Linked DNA regions of Homo sapiens: all the other regions are linked to region 1. Evidence: promoter capture Hi-C in 16 types of primary human blood cells and fetal thymus (Javierre and others, 2016). All regions are on one chromosome and are shown on one strand. The core of a region is centred on a gene start or on the middle of the fragment in contact, and the rest is flanking DNA. Distances in the headings are between cores, read along the strand shown. Region 1 holds the start of IL20RB-AS1 (IL20RB antisense RNA 1). Region 2 overlaps PPP2R3A (protein phosphatase 2 regulatory subunit B''alpha). Region 3 overlaps PPP2R3A (protein phosphatase 2 regulatory subunit B''alpha). Region 4 overlaps PPP2R3A (protein phosphatase 2 regulatory subunit B''alpha). Region 5 overlaps PPP2R3A (protein phosphatase 2 regulatory subunit B''alpha). Region 6 overlaps PPP2R3A (protein phosphatase 2 regulatory subunit B''alpha). Region 7 overlaps PPP2R3A (protein phosphatase 2 regulatory subunit B''alpha).

Region 1 (2,624 bases), core at 56-2,555:
AATCACTGGAGACTCAGATCCTTTAAGGGTGGAGGAGTCCTCACTTTTCCTGACTATAAGCTTATACCTAGAGCCAAAACGAACTATAATCCTAAAGGTCAGCTGGCCCTGGGGCTGAGCAGGCTCTAGTCTTCTCCAGGTGTTCAGGTGCTTGCAGCTATTGAATAGTGATAAGGACACAGAAATTGCTCCATATATTTCATTAACAATGAATACAGACTGAACACCTACATGTGTAGACATTCTTCTAGGCTCAGGGATACAGTTGACAAGGTTTCTGGATTTTGAGAGCTTACATCTAGAGGAGGATACAGATGATAAATATACTAGGCCAGCATTCTCTAGTATGGTAGCCACCAGCCACAGCTGGCTATTTAAATTTAAATTAAATTAAATTAAATTAAATTAAATTAAAATGTCTGTTTCCTGCCACACTAGTCACATTTTAGGTGTTCAATAGCCACATGTGGCCAGTGGTTACCATATTGAACAACATCGATTTAGAATATTTGCATCATCACAGAAAGTTTATTTTTGGAAAGCACTGCTCTAGGGAATTTTGGATAGTAATCAGTGCTAGGAGGAAGCTAAAAGGCTGATGCCATAGAGAGTTGACACTGAGGCTCCTTTATATTAGATGGCCTGGGATGGCCTCTCTGAGGAGGTGATATTTATGCCATATCTGAAGGACAAGAGGAGCCAGCCATGCGAACAGCAGGGGCAGAGCGTTTGAGATGGAGTGAACAGTTAGTCAAAGGTCCTAAGGCAAAAAGTGCTCAGCATTTTGGAGAAATGACCAATGTGGCAAGAATATCACGCTTCGGAGCAGAGTGAGAGAGAAGGCCAAAGCATCTTGTAAGACCACTGGCAAGAGTTTGGATCCCATTCTAAGTCCTGTAGGAAGCCATTAAGGAGAGAAACGTCACAATCTGCTGAGTGGTGAATGGTTTTGAGAATGGCAGGTGTCCAAGCTGGGAGATCACAGCAAGGCAAGGAATGACAGTGGCTGAGATTAGGGTGATGACCCTGGAGATGAAGAGATAAAAGAGATCCAGACACATTGATGTTTATGCCTAGCTTTCCCTATCTGGCAATAAAAGGAGTAAGGGACGATGGATGGTTGGTAGGGAGGAGAGTGGAGGAGCTAGGATAATGAGAAAGTACTTATTTTACTTACCTGTACAAAGTAGGTGAACGAAGTCAGTTACTTGCAACCATAACTGAGCCTGTGTCAGAGGGGCTGGTGTAACTCTGTGCCCTCCTCTCTTTGACAGGGAGTACGAGAGCCTGTACACGAGCCACATCTGGATCCCCAGCAGCTGGTGCTCACTCACTGAAGGTCCTGAGTGTGATGTCACTGATGACATCACGGCCACTGTGCCATACAACCTTCGTGTCAGGGCCACATTGGGCTCACAGACCTCAGCCTGGAGCATCCTGAAGCATCCCTTTAATAGAAACTCAAGTAAGGCACTTCTCTCCTTACACTCCCACCCCAACCAGCCCCTCCTTTAGGAACCATGTTCACCTAAACTTTCTAGACTCTTTTTAGCATCAGAATAGTCCTGCAAAGCCAGAGTATTGTGAACACAAACAACCCTTACTGGTATATTTGAAAAATTGCCAACTGCTTTCTACATGCTGCTCTCTGTCATGCCCTTTGACTACTCAAGTCATTCCTGACTGTCTGTGTCAGGGTGTGCAGGTGTTGGGGATGCTGACATTGGGAACCTGGAAGGAAAGCTGCTCTGGAAGTGAAGAGGTGGCACCAGGACTGCTGCTCCCTACTCTGATTGTGCCTCCATAAATTGTGCCTCCCACTTGAGGCCTCATTAACTGCATATTTACTGCCCACGTAAGCAGCTTTGTTGTGCAAGAGGATTTATACACTTAACAGAGCCACCAGAAAATTGCCCTTCTGTAATGACTTCTGTGGGAAATAAATAACTTTTCTTTTGGAGTAGTACCTGGAAAAGGATTGAGAAAGAAGTAATAGAGGAATCCAGATAGGTGGCCAAATGTGGCTGAGTACAAGCACTGGTCATTGTATAAAAGGACATGTGTGTTTGCGGAACAGGAGAGGCAAGGGCTGATGGGCAGGGGGTAGGGAAGCAGTTGATCATGTGGTGAAGGGCTTTGACACGAAGCTTGACCAAGTCAGTAGAGGGTAGCCAATGAAAGAGGAGAGGATCTAGACCAGGTCTATCTCTTTTTTTTTTTGATACGGAGTCTCACTCTGTCACCCAGGTTGGTGTGCAGTGGCGTGATCTCAGCTCACTGCAACCTCTGTCTCCTGGGTTCAAGTGATTCTCCTGCCTCAGCCTCCTGAGTAGCTGGGACTACAGGCGTGCACCACCATGCCTGGCTAATTTTTGTATTTTTAGTAGAGACAGGGTTTCACTATGTTTTCCAGGCTGGTCTGGAACTCCTGACCTCAAGTCATCTGCCCACTTCGGCCTCCCAAAGTGCTGGGATTACAGGCATGAGCCATGGCGCCCGGCCGACCAGGTCTATCTTACAAAGCAACACTCTGGCTGCTGTGTGGAAAGTGAACCAGAGTAGGGCAAGCCTGCAGGACAGGGGAAGAGTGAGGAGGGGGTTGTAATACTCCTACTGATCCCAAG
Region 2 (2,624 bases), core at 73-2,572, 950 kb before region 1:
TTGGTAGTGGCGAATTCTCTCAGCATTTGTTTTTCGGAAAAAGACTATCTTTTCTTTACATATGAAGCTTAGTTTTGCTGGATACAAAATTTTGGCTGATAATTGTTTTGTTTGAGGAGGCTGAAGATAGGGCCGCAATTCCTTCTAGCTTGTAGGGCTCTGCTGAGAAATCTGCTGTTAATCTGATAGGTTTTCCTTTTTAGGTTACGTAGTACTTTGGTGTCACCACTCTTAAGATTCTTTCCTTTATCTTAACTTTAGATTACCTGATGAGAGTGTGCCTAGGCAGTGATCTTTGTGTGATGAATTTCCCAGATGTTCTTTGTGCTTCTTGTATTTGGATGTCTAGGTCTCTAGCAAGGCTGGGGAAGTTTTCCTCAATTATTCTCCCAAGTATGTTTTCCAAACTTTAAATTTCTCTTCTTCCTCAGGAACACCAATCAATCTTAGGTTTGGTCGTTTAACATAATTCTTGACTCCTTAGAGGCTTTGTTCATATTTTCTTTTTTTTTTCTTTGTCTTTGTTGGATTGGGTTAATTTGAAGACCTTGTCTTTGAGCTCTGAATTTCTTTCTTCTGCTTGTTCAGTTCCATTGCTGAGACTTTCCAGAGCATTTTGCGTTTCTATAAGTGTGTCCATTGTTTCCTGAAGTTTTGATTGTTTTTTATTTATGCTATTTCCTTGAATATTTTTCCCTTCACTTGTATCATTTTTTGGATTTCCTTACATTGGGCTTTGCCTTTCTCTGGTGCCTCCCTGATTAGCTTAATAACTAACCTTCTGAATTCTTTTTCAGGTAAATCAGGGATTTCTTCTTGGTTTGGGTCCATTGCTGATAAGCTAGTGTGATTTTTTGAAGGTATTAAAGAACATTGTTTTGTCATATAACCAGAGTTGGTTTTCTGGTTCCTTCTCATATGGGTAGGCTCTGTCAGAGGAAAGGTCTAGGGCTGAAGGCTGTTAGTCAGATTCTTTTGTCCCACAGGGTGTTCCCTTGATTTAGTACTCTCCCCCTTTTCCTATGGATGTGGCTTCTTGAGAGCCAAGCTGTAGTGATTGTTATCTCTCTTCTGGATCTAGCCGCCCAGCAAGTCCAGGCTCTGGACTGCTACTGGGGGTTGTCTGCACAGCGTCCTGTGATGTGAACCCTCTGTGGGTCTCTCAGCTGTGTATACCAGCACAGTATTTGGGGTGCCTCTTGGGTCCCACAGGAACAGTCCGCTTCCTTCAGGGGGTCTGTGGGTCTTCTCAGGTTTCCTGATTTATTCCTGCAGTTGTTCTGGAGCGAAAATTCTCACTGCAAGCCTCCACACACTGCTCTGTCTGTCCCAAGTTGGAGCTGCAGTCTAGTCCTGCCTCCCGTCCACCATGATCCCCTCAGTCCTCAGAGACTTTTTATTACTCCTAATTCTCTTTTAATTTAGCTTTTACTTGGCTATTGCAGTCTATTAGTACTCACTAAGTCATCCTTATTTTCGACAGTTCTTTACTATGCATGCAAGTCTTTTCTGGTACCAGGCAGTGAGCTCTGTGTCTCCAGCACTTACTGTTCATATTCTTATGATAGGTTGGCATAGGAAAGAGGAGAAGAGAGGCAACCTTTAAGGAGTAAGGAGGAGAGAGTTTGTTAGAGCAATAAATGAATGTTCTTATGGATTCTTGTAGTTTATAAAGTTATTTGGAAGACCAGCTTGAGTTTGCCGCTTACTCTTAGTGGCACTCAAGTGTAGCTGTAAAGACTGGGATCTGTTTTTAAGTGCCTAGAAAACTCTGTGTTTATGGAATCTGCATCTGTTGGTGAAGTTTAGCTCATTCATCTTAGACCTCAAACAGCCCTGAAGAACTTAATGCTTACATCTGGTTAAATTCTCAGTGTGTAGTTTGTACGTTTTTCCACAGCTTTAAGTAATGATAGAGAAGAAAAGAATAGAGAATGAATCTCAGAGAAATGAAAGCAACTTAGGAACAGAAACAGAGAAACAGTAAGAAATGCATTTTTCAGAGACTGGGCCAAAGGATTCATCATGGAGTTTTAACTTCTAGCAGAAAGTTGAGGAAAAGGAATAAGACTCTTTTCTGAACCATACAAAGCCCCGCAGCTCCTGTCTTCTGGCTGACATAGCACCATCTTTACCCATCACACCTGTGGCCTGGAAGGTAGCCTCTCTGTACCTGAATTTCTTCATCTGTAAAATGGGATTAAAAAAATCACTGCCCTCATCTATGTGAGGATCACGTGAAGGCCAAATGAAATTACAAGCCTGAGACATCTTTAAATGTTGAAAGAAGATTACAAACATTGGGTAATCATCCTCTCCTATGTGTATCATTAGACAACCTTGCTTTGGATTATTTGTTTTGTTGGCCATTCTTAGATCAAATCGTAGGTGTTGATCAAGTTTTCTTTGCTCCAGAACTTTGATTACCATATATTGACTCGCCTCCCCCTCTAAAAATAAGTTTCCTAAATCTATTTTCTGTATCTCTGTGTATACCCACTTGCTATCCACTCTTCCTTTGTAAAAAAAAAAACAAAAACAAAATGTCAGTATTCACACTTCACACTTCAACAAGAAAAAGCTTGTTCTCTCTTCTATTAATAAAAGTGCTATTTTCTTGCCTT
Region 3 (2,624 bases), core at 48-2,547, 930 kb before region 1:
ATAATTCCCCCTACACACATACACATACACCTATAAGCACATTAAATACTACTTTGCCATGACAGCTCGGTATACTTCACAATTCTTTTTTTTTTTTTTTTTTTTTTTTGAGTTGGAGGCTCGCCCTGTCGCCAGGCTGGAGTGCAGTGGCACGATCTTGGCTCACTGCAACCTCCGCCTCCCGGGTTCAAGCAATTCTCCTTCCTCAGCCTCCCAGGTAGCTGGGATTACAGGCACGCGCCACCACACCCAGCTAATTTTTGTATTATTAGTAGAGATGGGGTTTCATCATGTTGGCCAGGATGGTCTGGATCTCTTGACCTCGTGATCCGCCCACCTCGGCCTCCCAAAGTGCTGAGATTACAGGCATGAGCCACCGCGTCCAGCCTACTTCACAATTCTTAACGCTATTCTATGTGGAATACAAAATGCCTTTTTATCTGAATTAACATGCATTTAAAAATATTTAGTATATGTGAAAATAAAGGAATTATAAATCAGTAGGAAAGATGTTCAGGTAAAGGCATCATCAGTCAGCTCAGTAGATGTTGTCTACATTTATTTTCTACCTTTGTAAAACAAGAACCTGCTAACAGTCTTAGGTAAATGGTAAAGTAACATATTTTTGCCCTGATGCCATTGGTCAGAATGCCATGAGATAGCTGCTGTGTGTTTAGTCTCAATTTCCTGTTTGCAAAGAAATGCATTAATTCAGTTTTCTACTCACTATATAATTCGGTTGTAGGGATATAGATATCTCATTTGAGTTCTCTGAGTTTTTTATCTTTATATCTAAAAATTTAATCTGAAAATAGTAAAAGCAGAAAACACTGATTTAAAACCTTAAAATGCTACTGCTCAGTGCATGTAATAAAAGTTAATGTTTATAAACATTTCAATATTTTAAAGTATATTTCCTTAACTTCAAGAATTTTGACTTTGCTTGCTACAAGGCTTTTTTCCTCAAAGATTCCTTTTAGGCTTACTTTGGTGTTCAGGATCTCCAGTTATAAATATAGAAGAGATGACTGTGCAAGATAAAATTAAAAAGCCAGACATACTTTCTATCAAGCTGCGTAAAAAGAAACATGAAGTACAAATGGATCACAGACCTGAGTCTGTTGTGTTGGTGAAAGGAATCAACATCTTTACATTGCTCAATTTTTTGATCAACTCTAAGAGTTTAGTTGCTACCTCAGGTCCACAGGTAGGACTTCCTCTGACCCTCTTATCCCCTGTTGCTCTCCGAGGTGCCATAATGCAAATGCTTAAGGCACAAAGTGTAAATGTGAAGACACAGCTCTTTCTGGATACAGAGACCAGTTTAGTTTGGAGATTACAGGTTCTATCGTGCCTCATTCTCTGCATTCACTGACCATGCTGCTCAAATCTTCACAGAGCGGGTCTTTCTCTGCAGTACTGTATCCACACGAGCCAACTGCTGTATTTAACACCTGCCTGCCAATGGACAAAGTACTTGATACAGAGGTTGTTCATAAGGAGCTTACTAACTGTGGTTTGCACCCTAAGACTCTGGAGCAACTTAGAGAAATACCACTACTTGGGAAATCATCTTTATGGAATGTGGTGATGAGAATTTTTTAAAAACAAATTGCACATACTGATATAAATAAATGATTGGGGAGAAGAAACAAATCTATGCAGAATTGCAAACAGTTTAGTAGACACTGCAGTCTTAAAGAGGGGAGCGTAAATCACCATTCCTTAAGAGTAGGCTATGCATAGTGATTTCAGGGTGTGGGGAGTAACTTTACAGTGGAGGAGCCTGACAGATACTACCTCAGTCTGATGATCAAGGCCAACATCAGCAGTCATCAATCACGTTGTTAGTATGTACCTTTGGCAAGATATGGTGCAAAGGACATGTTACTTCTCTGGCCTTTCTCCCAAAAATCCATAAACCCAGTCTAATCATGAGGAAAACATCAGGCAGATTCCAGTAATGAAATATCCTACATAATACCTGAGTAGTACTCATCAGAACTGTCAAGGTCATCAAAAGTAAGGAAAGTCTAAGAAACTGTCACAGCCAAAAGAAGTCTAAGGAGACATAACTAAATAGAATATGATGACCTGGATAGAACACTGGAATAGAAAGAAGACATCAGGTAAAAATTAAGGAAATGTGAATAAAGTATGGACTTTAAAAATAATGTGTCAATATCAGTTTAATTTTAACAAGTGGACCATATAGTAAGTGTAAGGTGTTAATAATTGAGGAATCTGGGCGCAGGGTATATGGGAACTCTCAGTGCTGTTTTCTTAATTTTTTTATAAACCTAAAACTATTCTAAAAAAAAAAAACCAGTTATTTTAAAAAGTACTATATTAAGGAAGGTTATATACAATAAGAACCGTAAAACAAAACCTTTATCTTACACCGTATATAAAAATCAACTGAAAATGGGTTAAAGACTTAAATGTAATACCTGAAACTGTAAAGAAAACATAGGGGTAAGGCTGCGTGACACTCGTCTTAGCATTGATTTTTTTTTTGGATATGAACCCAAAAGCACAAAGGAAAAAATAGACAAATGGAATTGCATCAAAGTAAAAAACTTCTGCACAGTCAAGGAAATAATCAACAGAGTGAAAAGAAAATC
Region 4 (2,624 bases), core at 76-2,575, 900 kb before region 1:
TCTGCCATTTCATTTTTTTATATTTCTTACATTCTTTTGTGCTTTTATTTTTCTTTCTGAATCTTTCACTTCTGAATATGTCTTTATTTATCTGCCCACTTACATAATAATTTGGCTGACAACAGAATTGTGGGTTCAGTATCATTGATTCTGGATTTTGCCGTAGGGGAGTACAGTGAGTCAGGGAAGACCCAGGTTTACTTCCAGCTCAGGGCCCTGCATCTCTACCTGCCATGCCTATGCCAGGCCACCATGTATCATCACTATTGTATATATGAGTAACCTTTGTGATATAAACTTAATTTTATTACAAAATGAAACCCTATATGTTGATGCCTACCCCTCTTAATGTTGCTCACATAACTTTGAAAATTAAAAACAGTATTTGTTTCTGGCCAAATAATTAAGACTATGATCTAATTGTTCTTTTCATGCCAGTCTCTGACCTCTGACCAACTATAGTCCCCAAGGTAATGGTACTTCCCTTCCCCTGCTTTTACATCCTCCACAGCATCCAGCCCTTCACTGAGCATATTACAGAGCTCAGTAAATGCTTATAGATTGATTGGTTGATTAAAGGTAGGATGAGGTTGCCTATTAAAGGGTTTCTGATTTGGTACCAGAAAAAAATTTTAAATTCAGTTTAAAACAGAAATTCGCTAGACTCTGCACAGTGGCCAAAGCTGCTTTTTCATAATGTTTAAATTCTTCTTTTCATATAATTTCAGACCCTAGCACTTTTGGAAGAAGAGGAAGATATAAACCAAATTACAGATTACTTCTCCTATGAACATTTCTATGTTATTTATTGTAAATTCTGGGAACTAGATACTGATCACGACCTCTACATCAGCCAGGCCGATCTGTCTCGATACAATGACCAGGGTAAGTGATTCTGTAGATGCTAAGACTTAACCATTTTAAAGAGTTATATAAATTATCACTACTCATTATGAGAAATTCCCGTTTGCTAAATTCTAAACCTAATCAAGTCCTCTTTACAGGCCAATAATTTTTAAGAGGGGATGAGTGAAGATAATATAATTTTTTATTAAATTAATAAAAGGCCAGATGTAGGAGAAGGAGTTTGGAAGTAAGTAACCAATCACAGTCTTAGTTTTGATAAAGCGATGAGTCTTTATACTGGTGTGTATTTTCTGATGATGAATTGAATAAGATCCACACCTGTTTAAATCTGTTTGAAAGAGAATATGTATACACCTTTATAACCCTTCCCACTTAACAATATTTCTGTAAAAAGCCAAGCATGAAAATAATGTTTTTAACTTGCCAAGTTTTATTTTCAAGGACTCACAAAAATTTACTTTTGGAAATTTTGTTCCAGAAAGATACGTCTCTGCAGATGAATTTTGCGTGCTTTCTTTTGTCAGAAAACAAAAAATTACATATCACATGATAATACCCTTTTTACTTCATTTTTGCCAGCGGTAAATCTAGAACCTGTTGCCTACTGATTTAATATCCTTGGTTTTTTTGAGACAGCGTCTCACTTTGTCACCTAGGCTGGAATGCAGAAGCATGAACACGGCTCACTGTAACCTCAACCTCCTGGGCTCAAGCCATCCTACCACCTCAGCCCCTAAGTAGCTGGGACTACAGGCACATGCCACCATACCTGGCTAATTTTTTTGTATTTTTTTGTAAAGATGGTGGTATGGTTTGGCTATGTTCCCACCCAAATCTCATCTTGAATTGTAGCTCCCATAATCCCCACCTGTTGTGGCAGGGACCTGGTGGCAGGTAATTGAATCATGGGAGTGGGTCTTTCCCATGTAGTTCTCATGATAGTGAATAAGTCTCATGAGAGCTGATGGTTTTATAAAGGGGAGTTCCTCTGCACATGCTCTCTTGCCTGCCACCCTGTAACATGTGCTGTTGCTTCTCCTTTGCCTTCCGCCATGATTGTGAGGCCTTCTCAGCCATGTGGAACTATGAGTCCATTAAACTCTTCCCATTATAAATTACCCAGTCTCAGGTATGTCTTTACTAGCAGCATGAGAACAGACTAATATAGTAAATTGGTACCAGTAGCATGGGGCGCTGCTGTAAAGATACCCGAAAATGTGGAAGGGACTTTGGAACTAGGTAATAGGCAGAGGTTGGAACAGTTTGGAGGGCTCAGATAAAGACAGGAACATGTGGGAAAGTTTGGAACTTCCTAGAGACTTGAATGGCTTTAACCAAAATGCTGATAGTGATATGGACAATAAAATCCAGGCTGAAGTGATCTCAGGTGGAGATGAGGAACTTGTTGGGAACTGGAGTAAAGGTCACTCTTGCTATGCAAAGAGACTTGGCATTTTGCCCCTGCCCTAGAGATCTGTGGAACTTTGAACTTGAAAGAGATGATTTGGGGTATGTGGTGGAAGAAATTCCTAAGCAGCAAAGCATTCAAGAAGTGACAGTGCATAAAAGTTTGGAAAATTTGCTGCCTGATAATGCAGTAGAAAATAAAAACCCATTTTCCGGGGAGAAATTCAAGCCCACTGCAGAAATTTGCATAAATAATGGGGAGTCAAATGCTAATCACCAAAACAATGGGGAAAATGTCTCCAGGGCATGTCAGAGACCATCATGACAGCCCCTCCCATCACAGGCCTGGA
Region 5 (2,624 bases), core at 84-2,583, 880 kb before region 1:
GTGCCTCTACTCCAGCCTGGGCAGCAGAGTGAGACCCCATCTCTAAAGTTAAAACAAAAAATCTGAAGGCAAAACACCACAAACCTCTAATTCTATAACTAGCCAAAATACCAACCATATTAGAGGGTAGAAAAAAGGCATTTTCAAAGACCCAAGATCTCAAAAAATGTACCTGCCATGCTCTTTCATTCAAGAAGCTACTAGAGAATGCGCAGAGTAACAAAATAATGAGGAAACAAAGAATGAGGAAAATGCAAGAAACAAGAATTAGGAGAAAGGCGAAAGGAATCCCTGGATGAAACTGAGCGAGGCCTAGAGACTAAGCAGCCCAGATTAGAGTAGGTCAGAAGCAACCAAGGAAGACTTCATCAAGAACATGCAATTGACAGAGCACCTCATGGAACTGAGTGTGGATTTAGACAACTGGCAGAATTTGGGGGTTGAATTAGTAGCAAGTACACAGAAAACTAAGCAAATAGATAAAAGAAAAATATAAAATTATAAATTCTGAATGTTGAGCAAGTTAACTGTGTTAAGAGGATGAGAAGGGCGTGTAGGTAAAGTGGTGACAAATTACAGAAGAACTAAAGTTCAACTTTCATAATGTGAAATCTACTTTTTGTTTGGTTGGTTGGTTGTTTAGTTGGTTTTTATCTTGAGGCGGGAGTCTCGTTCTTTCACCCAGGCTGGAGTGCAGCAGCGCAGTCTTGGCTCACTGCACCCTCCACCTCCCAGGTTCAAACAATCCTCCCACCTCAGCCGCCCAAGTAGCTGAGATTACAGGCATGCACCACCATGCGCAGCTAGTTTTTTGTATTTTTAGTAGAGATAGGGTTTCACCATGTTGGCCAGGCTGATCTCAAACTCCTGACCTGAAGTGATCTGCCCACCTCAGTCTCCCAAAGTGCTGGGATTACAGGCATGAGCCACCGTGCCCAGCCTCTAATAATAGTTCTGAAAATAAATACAAGAAAGGAGCGATATAGACGTGTTATCTGAAAATAGGAAGGTAAAAAGCAAAATGGGGTTGAACACGGTTGATTCTGGGTGGAAAAATAAAGGGAAGAAGGGGTCCGCCATTTTCTCTAACAAACTTTGTAAAACTATATCTAAGCCTGAAGTGTATGTAATATGTAACTTTTACTTTAAAAGAAACATACTAAATCTGGATAAATAAAAGGTCTTTACCAGGCCCATGATAATGATTGTCCTTATCATCTAGCATTGAGTATTGGTTCCGCTGCATGGATGTGGATGGAGACGGTGTACTCTCCATGTATGAGCTGGAGTACTTCTATGAGGAGCAGTGTGAACGGATGGAAGCCATGGGAATTGAGCCCTTGCCATTCCATGATTTACTGTGCCAGATGCTTGACCTAGTGAAGCCAGCTGTTGATGGTGAGACCAAGCAATGGGACAGATGCACTGTTCACCTATGTATCAGAGGAGGGCAAAGAATCCTAGATTGTCCTAAATTATTTAACATTTCAGAGTCTTGATAGAAGACTTCCTAGGACAGAAGTGTTTAAAGTTTCTCCTTGACTATTAGTGTAGCAACTTTTTTTTTTTTTTTTTTTTTTGAGATGCAGTCTCGCTTTGTCTGCCAGGCTGGAGTACAATGGTGTGATCTCAGCTCACTGCAACCTCCGCCTCCTGGGTTCAAGTGATTCTCCTGCCTCAGCCTCCCAAGTAGCTGGGACTACAGGCAACCACCACCATGCCCAGCTAATTTTTGTATTTTTAGTAGAGATGGGGTTTCACCATGTTGGCCAGGCTGGTCTCGAACTCCTGACCTCAGGTGATCCACCCACCTCGGTCTCCCAAAGTGCTGGGGTTACAGGCGTGAGTCACCATGCCCAGGCTTAGTGTAGCAATTGATGGCAAGTCTGCTATTTAAGAAATAGGATTTTACACCAGGCACAGTGGTGTATGCCTGTAGTCCCTGCTACTAAGGATGCTGAGGTGGGAGGATTGCATTATGATTGTTCCTGTGAGTAGCCACTGCACTCCAGCCTAGGCAACACAGCGAGACTGTATCTCTTTTTTAAAAAGAAAATGAAAGCGGGGTTTGGGGGATGAAAGAAGATTTTTCCTTAGACACAGAAAGCACATGAGGAGAGATGGGAGGGACTGCTTGATGGGCACAGAGTTTCCTTTTGGGGTGATGATATTATTACAGAACTAGATAGTGGTAATGGTTGTACAACATTGTGAGTGTACTAAAAGCCACTGAATTATGCACTTTAAAATTGTTTAAATGGTGAACTTTATTAGTGAATTTTACCTCAATAAAAGAAATGGGTTTGAGAAATTGATACCCTTGAAAAAAGAAATGAGATTTAAATTTTTTTATTCTGAAAATAGGACTTTTATAATAAACATATACCTATACTTTTAGATGTCAGGGAAAGTTTTTTCCTCTTGCCAAAACAGCTCTTGATGAAATTTACCAGATTTGTTTATTTTTATGTAGGCAAAATAACTCTAAGAGATCTGAAGAGGTGCAGAATGGCTCACATCTTCTATGACACTTTCTTTAATCTGGAGAAATACTTAGACCATGAACAGAGAGATCCCTTTGCGGTCCAGAAGGTAACAGTATAATTTTAACTTTTATTTGAGGG
Region 6 (2,624 bases), core at 60-2,559, 860 kb before region 1:
AGATGAAATTGAGAATATTTTCACTAAACTGTAATTCCAAATCTCAACATGCTAGGTTTTCACTTGATTATCTAACAGAAGTCTAGCTGATTTTTTTCCCAATGTTCCCTTCCAATGCAATACCTGAGAATTCTCAAAACATAAAATTCTGAAGGTTTAAAAATATATTTTAAGATAACCTTTAAGCAAAAAAGGAAATCTTTTGCTTAAAAAATCAAAAAAATACAAATTACGATCTTTTTAGAACCAGACAATGAAAGTATTCTATTTATTACAACCTGTGGGATATGGACAGGAAGAAATTTGTAGCCTGTATACTGAAATAAATGAATTAGGCAATCCATTCAAGATGCATGAAAAAGGATGACATAGCTGGGCACGGTGACTCACACCTGTAACCCCAACACTCTGGGAAGCTGAGGCGGAAGGATCACTTGAGCCCAGAAGTTTAACGTTATGGTGAACTATGATCACACCACTGCACTCCATCCTGGGTGACAAAGTGAGCCTCAGACTTGAAAAGAAACAGGATGACAAAATAAAGTACAACTCTCCCTCCATATATGTGAAGGATTGATTCCAGGACTGCCTGTGTGTACCCAAATTTGCATATAGTCAAGTCCCACAGTCAGCCTTGCAAAAACCCACATATATGAAAGTTTACCCTCCTGCAGTTAAATATATATGAGTTTTGCATCCCTTGAATACTGTATTTTTACCTGCATTTTGTTGGAAATCCATGTATAAGAAGACCCATGAAGTTCAGACCGATATTATTCAAGGGTCAACTGTATATATTAGGAAGAAATCAAACACTTCTACGTAAACAACAACAAAAAAATCTATTTATACATACACACAGAGAGCATACTATGTAACAAGCACTGTTCTACATATTTTAATTCATTGTGCTCACAGAGCCCTATGTGTTGGATACTGTTATGTTACAGTTAACGAAAACTGAACCACAGAAGATTATGTAAATTGTCAAATCTCTCAATGTATAAAAGAATACATCAGAAGTAAATGGGTGTTATCCCAGGACTGGAACATTAGTTTATCCTTACAAAATCTGTCATTAGCGATTAAAGGAGACAAAATTATAAAAATTTAAATTGATTCTTTGAAGGCATCTCATAAAATTTAATATATTTTGTAGTTTGGGGGAAAAAATCTTAAAACTAAGCAAACTAAGATAAGTAACTCTTTAATGGATAAAGGGTTTTAGTTCCATATCCCAGAAATAACCAGTTAAAAATGACCAGTTGCTGTGTTAATTTATTAATTTAATATAATTTATCCCCCAAAATACGTTGTGGAACTTAGTAAGCTAGTTTTAAAGTTCCCATGGCATAATAAGGACACAGAATAGCAATGAGTTATGAAAAGAAACAAAGGTATGGTGGGGTACAGGAGAGATGGACTATATAAAACCATAGTAATAATTAAAGCAAGTATATTATTCACGTCAAAACAGAAAAATTATGCATAGCAATGGGTAGCATATGATAAAGATAGCATGTTAAATGTGTCAGGAAAAGGCTAGTCAGTAAAATGTTGGTTCTCCATGGTGGGGCAAAATAAATGCATATTAAACTAATGTCTGCATGAAAATAAAGACTTTAAAAGCATAAAAGTAATGGAAGAAATGTATAAGGAAATTATTTATAGATTTGAGTAAATTTTAAAAGTAACCCAAAAAAGTGACAAAATTCTGCATCACAATCAAAGGGCAAACTGGGTTGCATCATATGACCAATATTTTGTTTTATAAATAGGGTTCTTCAAAATCAATAGTAAGAACATAAATATTGTCCAGTTCAAAAGACAGACATTTTACCCAGGAAACAAACATAAATATTCCTGCTTCACTAGTGTTAAAATGCAGTAGCCAGATGTGATCATTTTAAATGTATGTGTATCAAACAACACAGCCACAAAATACATTAAATAAAAATTTCCAGACTTGAAAGGAGAAATAGATAAGTCAACAATTACAGTTGGAGATTTCAACACTTCTCATTCAGTAATTGATAGAACGATTGCAGACACTCAAGGATACAGAAGACTTAATAGTCAACACATTTGATTTAATCATTATTAGGGCACACTCCACAAAACAACAAAAATATATATACACTGTTTCATCCAGGTGTACACAGAACTTTTCCAGACCACATCTTTGGCAGATAAAATAAGACTTGATAAATTCAAATGATTACAATAATATAAATATGTTGTTTGATTAAAAATTGAATTAAATTAGAAAACAGATCTGGGAACACCAAAATATTTGGAAATTAAATGACACACTCTTAAGATGCATAGGTCAAAGAAAAAACCACAGGGAAATTCAAAATTATCTTTAAATGAATGAAAAGAACATGTGAAAATATATGGGATGGACTGGGCACAGTGGCTCATGCCAGTAATCTGAGCACTCTGGGAGGACAAGTTGGGAAGATTGCGTGGGGCCAGGAGTTCAAGATCAGACTGGGCAGCACAGCGAGACCCCACTTCTACAGAATTAGCCGGGCATGGGGATGGCATACACCTATAGTTCTAGCTGCCTGAGAGGCTGAAGCAAGAGGATTGCTTGAACCCAGAAGTTTGAGGTTACAGTG
Region 7 (2,624 bases), core at 86-2,585, 840 kb before region 1:
ATTTTGAGGCAGGAAACAGCATGTTGGGGAGATTTTTAAAGCCTAGTATGGCCAGAATATAGTGAGCAACAGAGGGAGATGTGGTTACAAAGTCTAGCAGGGGCCAGATCATGCAGGGCCTAGGGAAGCCACTGAAAATTGTTAAGCAAGGGAGTGATATAATCCCTACCCCTTAGGTTTTCTGAAGATTATTCTGCCAGATTAGTGGAAGTGCAAGAACAGAAGTAGGGAGACAAATAAGGAAGCCATTACATACATCTGAATCAGAGATGTGGTTAATTAATTCAGGAGTGAATAATCAGAAAACCTGTACATGACATCTCAGATTAAAAGATGAACACAAGCTAGCCAAAGAGGGAAGGGCATTTCAGGCAATTGAAAAACATGTACAGTGGCATTAGGTCCCAAGACCATAACCTATTCCAACACTATAAACAGCCTGGTATGGCAGTAGCAAAGGATATGTGGCAAGAGTGTAATCCAAACAAGAAAGTATGGTACCCTGAACTTAAGCCAGTGGTGGTAGGGAGGAAGAGGCAGGGTTGTATCCATATGGTCAACTGTAGTGAGGTGAGGAAAGAGGAACTTGGGATAACCGAGTTTCTGGCTTTGAGTGGGCAGATGACAGTGCCATTGACTAAAATAGGGAGAACCAGGGCAGTGGGAAAGATGAGTTCAAGTTTATACATGCTGCTGTTCTGAAAGAGCCATCTATATAGTAGGCAGCTGGATATATGGAGTTCTCCAGCTTAGAAAGAGGCTGAGGCTGGACATAGTTTGGAAACCACAGGTGAGTAGGCAGTGAGTAAAGCCATGGGAAAGACTAAGCTTACCAGGGAAGTACAAAACGAGAAGAGCTTATTAGTCCAGAACCTGGGACGCACTGGCATTGAAGGAGCAAGAGTTCTAAGATGGGTAATTTTATTGTGAGACATACGGCACATTGTAGGATGTTTAGCACCATCCCTGCACTCTACCCACTAGATGCCAGTAGGACCCACTCAGTGGTGACAGTCAAGACACAGACATGTCTCCAGACATGCCCAAATGTCCCCTGGCGGCGGGGGACAAAATCACCCTAGTTGAGAACCACCAAAATTAAGAGGAGTCTCCAGGATGCTGACAAAGGAGGGTTATTGAATGAACTTCCTTTTGCAAATGTTTTATTCAAAAATGACATACACAAAAATGTATAATCCCTCCCCCAATATAGGATTAGGTGTCACTCACCAACATGCCCAAAATCACATTAAGTGATCAAACCCAGATTGGAACCTGACTTTTATAGTCTGACTCCAAAGCCTGTGCTCTAAGCCTAAATCACTTAACCCCTAACTCCATAAGGTCTCCATTAGGCTTCAAGTGCTGTGAGGAGAGGGCTGATTCAGTCTTTTTCATCATTATAATCCTAGCATTTGGCTCTGACACTTAGCAACAGGAGTTCAAATATTTACTGAATGAGTCACACTTCACACTTAACTCTGAAAATATGCGTTATTCATAGACCTACACTGAGGTATTTAACACTGATAGCTTACAGACAACACGTTAGGGCACCAAGGGGAAGATGCTCCCATCCTGACAAGAAATCAGCAGCATTGGTTTTGAGAATTTTGTTCCCCAGAACAGAGGCTCTGCCATCAACCATTTCACTTGCATTAGCGGAAAGTTCCTCTCCTATTGCCTCCTTATCCAGCACATCCCATGCCGCATTGAGGCCTCAAGGAGATGGGGGAAGAGGAGTGGAAACAAGAATGGAATGGAATATTTTTATTAAATGAACAAATTATAACTTTTGACAGTATCATAAACTGGTAGTCATAGGGAACAATTTTCTATCAAGTAAGCTTTTTAAAAGGTTTAAACCTCTAACCTCTATTCAAAAATGTTGGCCTAGGCTGGGTGCAGTGGCTCACACCTTTAATCCCAGCACTTTGGGAGGCTGATGGGGGTGGATCACCTGAGGTCAGGAGTTGAAGACCAGCCTGGCCAACATGGCGAAACCCTGTTGCTACTAAGAAAACACAAAAACCAGCCAGGAGTGGTGATATACGTCCGTAATCCCTGCTTCTTGGGAGGCTGAGGCAGGAGAATTGCTTGAACCCAGAAAGCAGAGGTTGCAGTGAACCAAGATCATGCCACTGCACTCCAGCCTGGGCAACAGAGCAAGACTCCATCTCAAAAACAAAAAGATGTTGACTGGGCGCAGTGGCTCATGCCTGTAATCCCAGCATTTTGGGAGGCCGAGACAGGTGGATCACTTGAGGTTAGGAGTTCAAGACCAGTCTGGCAAACATGGTGAAACCCTGTCTCTACTGAAAATACAAAAATTACCCGGGCATGGTGGCACATGCCTGTAAATCCCAGCTACTCGGGAGGCTGAGGCAGGAGAATCACTTGAACTTGGGAGGCAGAGGTTGCAATGAGCCAAGATGGCCCCACTGTACTCCAGCCTGGGCGACACAGCGAGACTCCATCTCAAAAGAAAAAACACACACAATGTTTTAGGAACTTGAATAGGTGCCACTTACTGTATATACCTACCTCAGCATATTTTCCCTCACTAATTGGCCCCAATTGGTACCTTTTTGATGAAGGGACTGTATGTCCACAAATTCCTGCTT

The links. Contacts are between HindIII fragments. The CHiCAGO score rates a contact against its expected background, and 5 or more counts as called.
Region 2: a contact is called between a fragment that was not itself captured here and the fragment with the promoter of IL20RB-AS1 in region 1, in 2 of 17 cell types (naive CD4 T cells and naive CD8 T cells). The highest score is 5.7, in naive CD4 T cells.
Region 3: a fragment that was not itself captured here is called in contact with the fragment with the promoter of IL20RB-AS1 in region 1 in 11 of 17 cell types (neutrophils, naive CD8 T cells, total CD8 T cells and 8 more); the score reaches 13.2 in neutrophils.
Region 4: a contact is called between a fragment that was not itself captured here and the fragment with the promoter of IL20RB-AS1 in region 1, in 15 of 17 cell types (fetal thymus, naive CD4 T cells, total B cells and 12 more). The highest score is 16.6, in fetal thymus.
Region 5: a fragment that was not itself captured here is called in contact with the fragment with the promoter of IL20RB-AS1 in region 1 in 12 of 17 cell types (neutrophils, monocytes, total CD4 T cells and 9 more); the score reaches 18.5 in neutrophils.
Region 6: a fragment that was not itself captured here is called in contact with the fragment with the promoter of IL20RB-AS1 in region 1 in 9 of 17 cell types (fetal thymus, neutrophils, naive B cells and 6 more); the score reaches 10.8 in fetal thymus.
Region 7: a contact is called between a fragment that was not itself captured here and the fragment with the promoter of IL20RB-AS1 in region 1, in 8 of 17 cell types (naive CD8 T cells, fetal thymus, naive CD4 T cells and 5 more). The highest score is 8.4, in naive CD8 T cells.

What each region holds. Positions count from the first base shown.
Region 1 is chr3:136,980,886-136,983,509 of GRCh38, forward strand. It overlaps IL20RB-AS1 (IL20RB antisense RNA 1), which reads right to left and starts at 1,306. Exons shown (of 4, transcript NR_183729.1): 1 at 1,178-1,306. It overlaps IL20RB (interleukin 20 receptor subunit beta), which reads left to right. Exons shown (of 7, transcript NM_144717.4): 3 at 1,275-1,465. The HindIII fragment of the contact is 2,087 bases long and covers 59-2,145 here.
Region 2 is chr3:136,035,420-136,038,043 of GRCh38, forward strand. The region is part of intron 3 of PPP2R3A (protein phosphatase 2 regulatory subunit B''alpha); the gene reads left to right. Among named protein-coding and RNA genes, the nearest start is that of PPP2R3A, 71 kb to the left of the region's middle. The HindIII fragment of the contact is 2,514 bases long and covers 66-2,579 here.
Region 3 is chr3:136,054,169-136,056,792 of GRCh38, forward strand. The region is part of intron 5 of PPP2R3A (protein phosphatase 2 regulatory subunit B''alpha); the gene reads left to right. It also overlaps the pseudogene DONSONP1. Among named protein-coding and RNA genes, the nearest start is that of PPP2R3A, 90 kb to the left of the region's middle. The HindIII fragment of the contact is 5,644 bases long and covers 1-2,624 here.
Region 4 is chr3:136,081,537-136,084,160 of GRCh38, forward strand. PPP2R3A (protein phosphatase 2 regulatory subunit B''alpha) reads left to right here. Exons shown (of 14, transcript NM_002718.5): 8 at 729-885. Among named protein-coding and RNA genes, the nearest start is that of MSL2, 110 kb to the right of the region's middle. The HindIII fragment of the contact is 7,708 bases long and covers 1-2,624 here.
Region 5 is chr3:136,100,785-136,103,408 of GRCh38, forward strand. PPP2R3A (protein phosphatase 2 regulatory subunit B''alpha) reads left to right here. Exons shown (of 14, transcript NM_002718.5): 11 at 1,223-1,398; 12 at 2,474-2,592. Among named protein-coding and RNA genes, the nearest start is that of MSL2, 94 kb to the right of the region's middle. The HindIII fragment of the contact is 3,912 bases long and covers 1-2,624 here.
Region 6 is chr3:136,121,804-136,124,427 of GRCh38, forward strand. All of the region lies in intron 13 of PPP2R3A (protein phosphatase 2 regulatory subunit B''alpha), which reads left to right. Among named protein-coding and RNA genes, the nearest start is that of MSL2, 73 kb to the right of the region's middle. The HindIII fragment of the contact is 2,936 bases long and covers 1-2,624 here.
Region 7 is chr3:136,141,311-136,143,934 of GRCh38, forward strand. The region is part of intron 13 of PPP2R3A (protein phosphatase 2 regulatory subunit B''alpha); the gene reads left to right. Among named protein-coding and RNA genes, the nearest start is that of MSL2, 54 kb to the right of the region's middle. The HindIII fragment of the contact is 1,019 bases long and covers 827-1,845 here.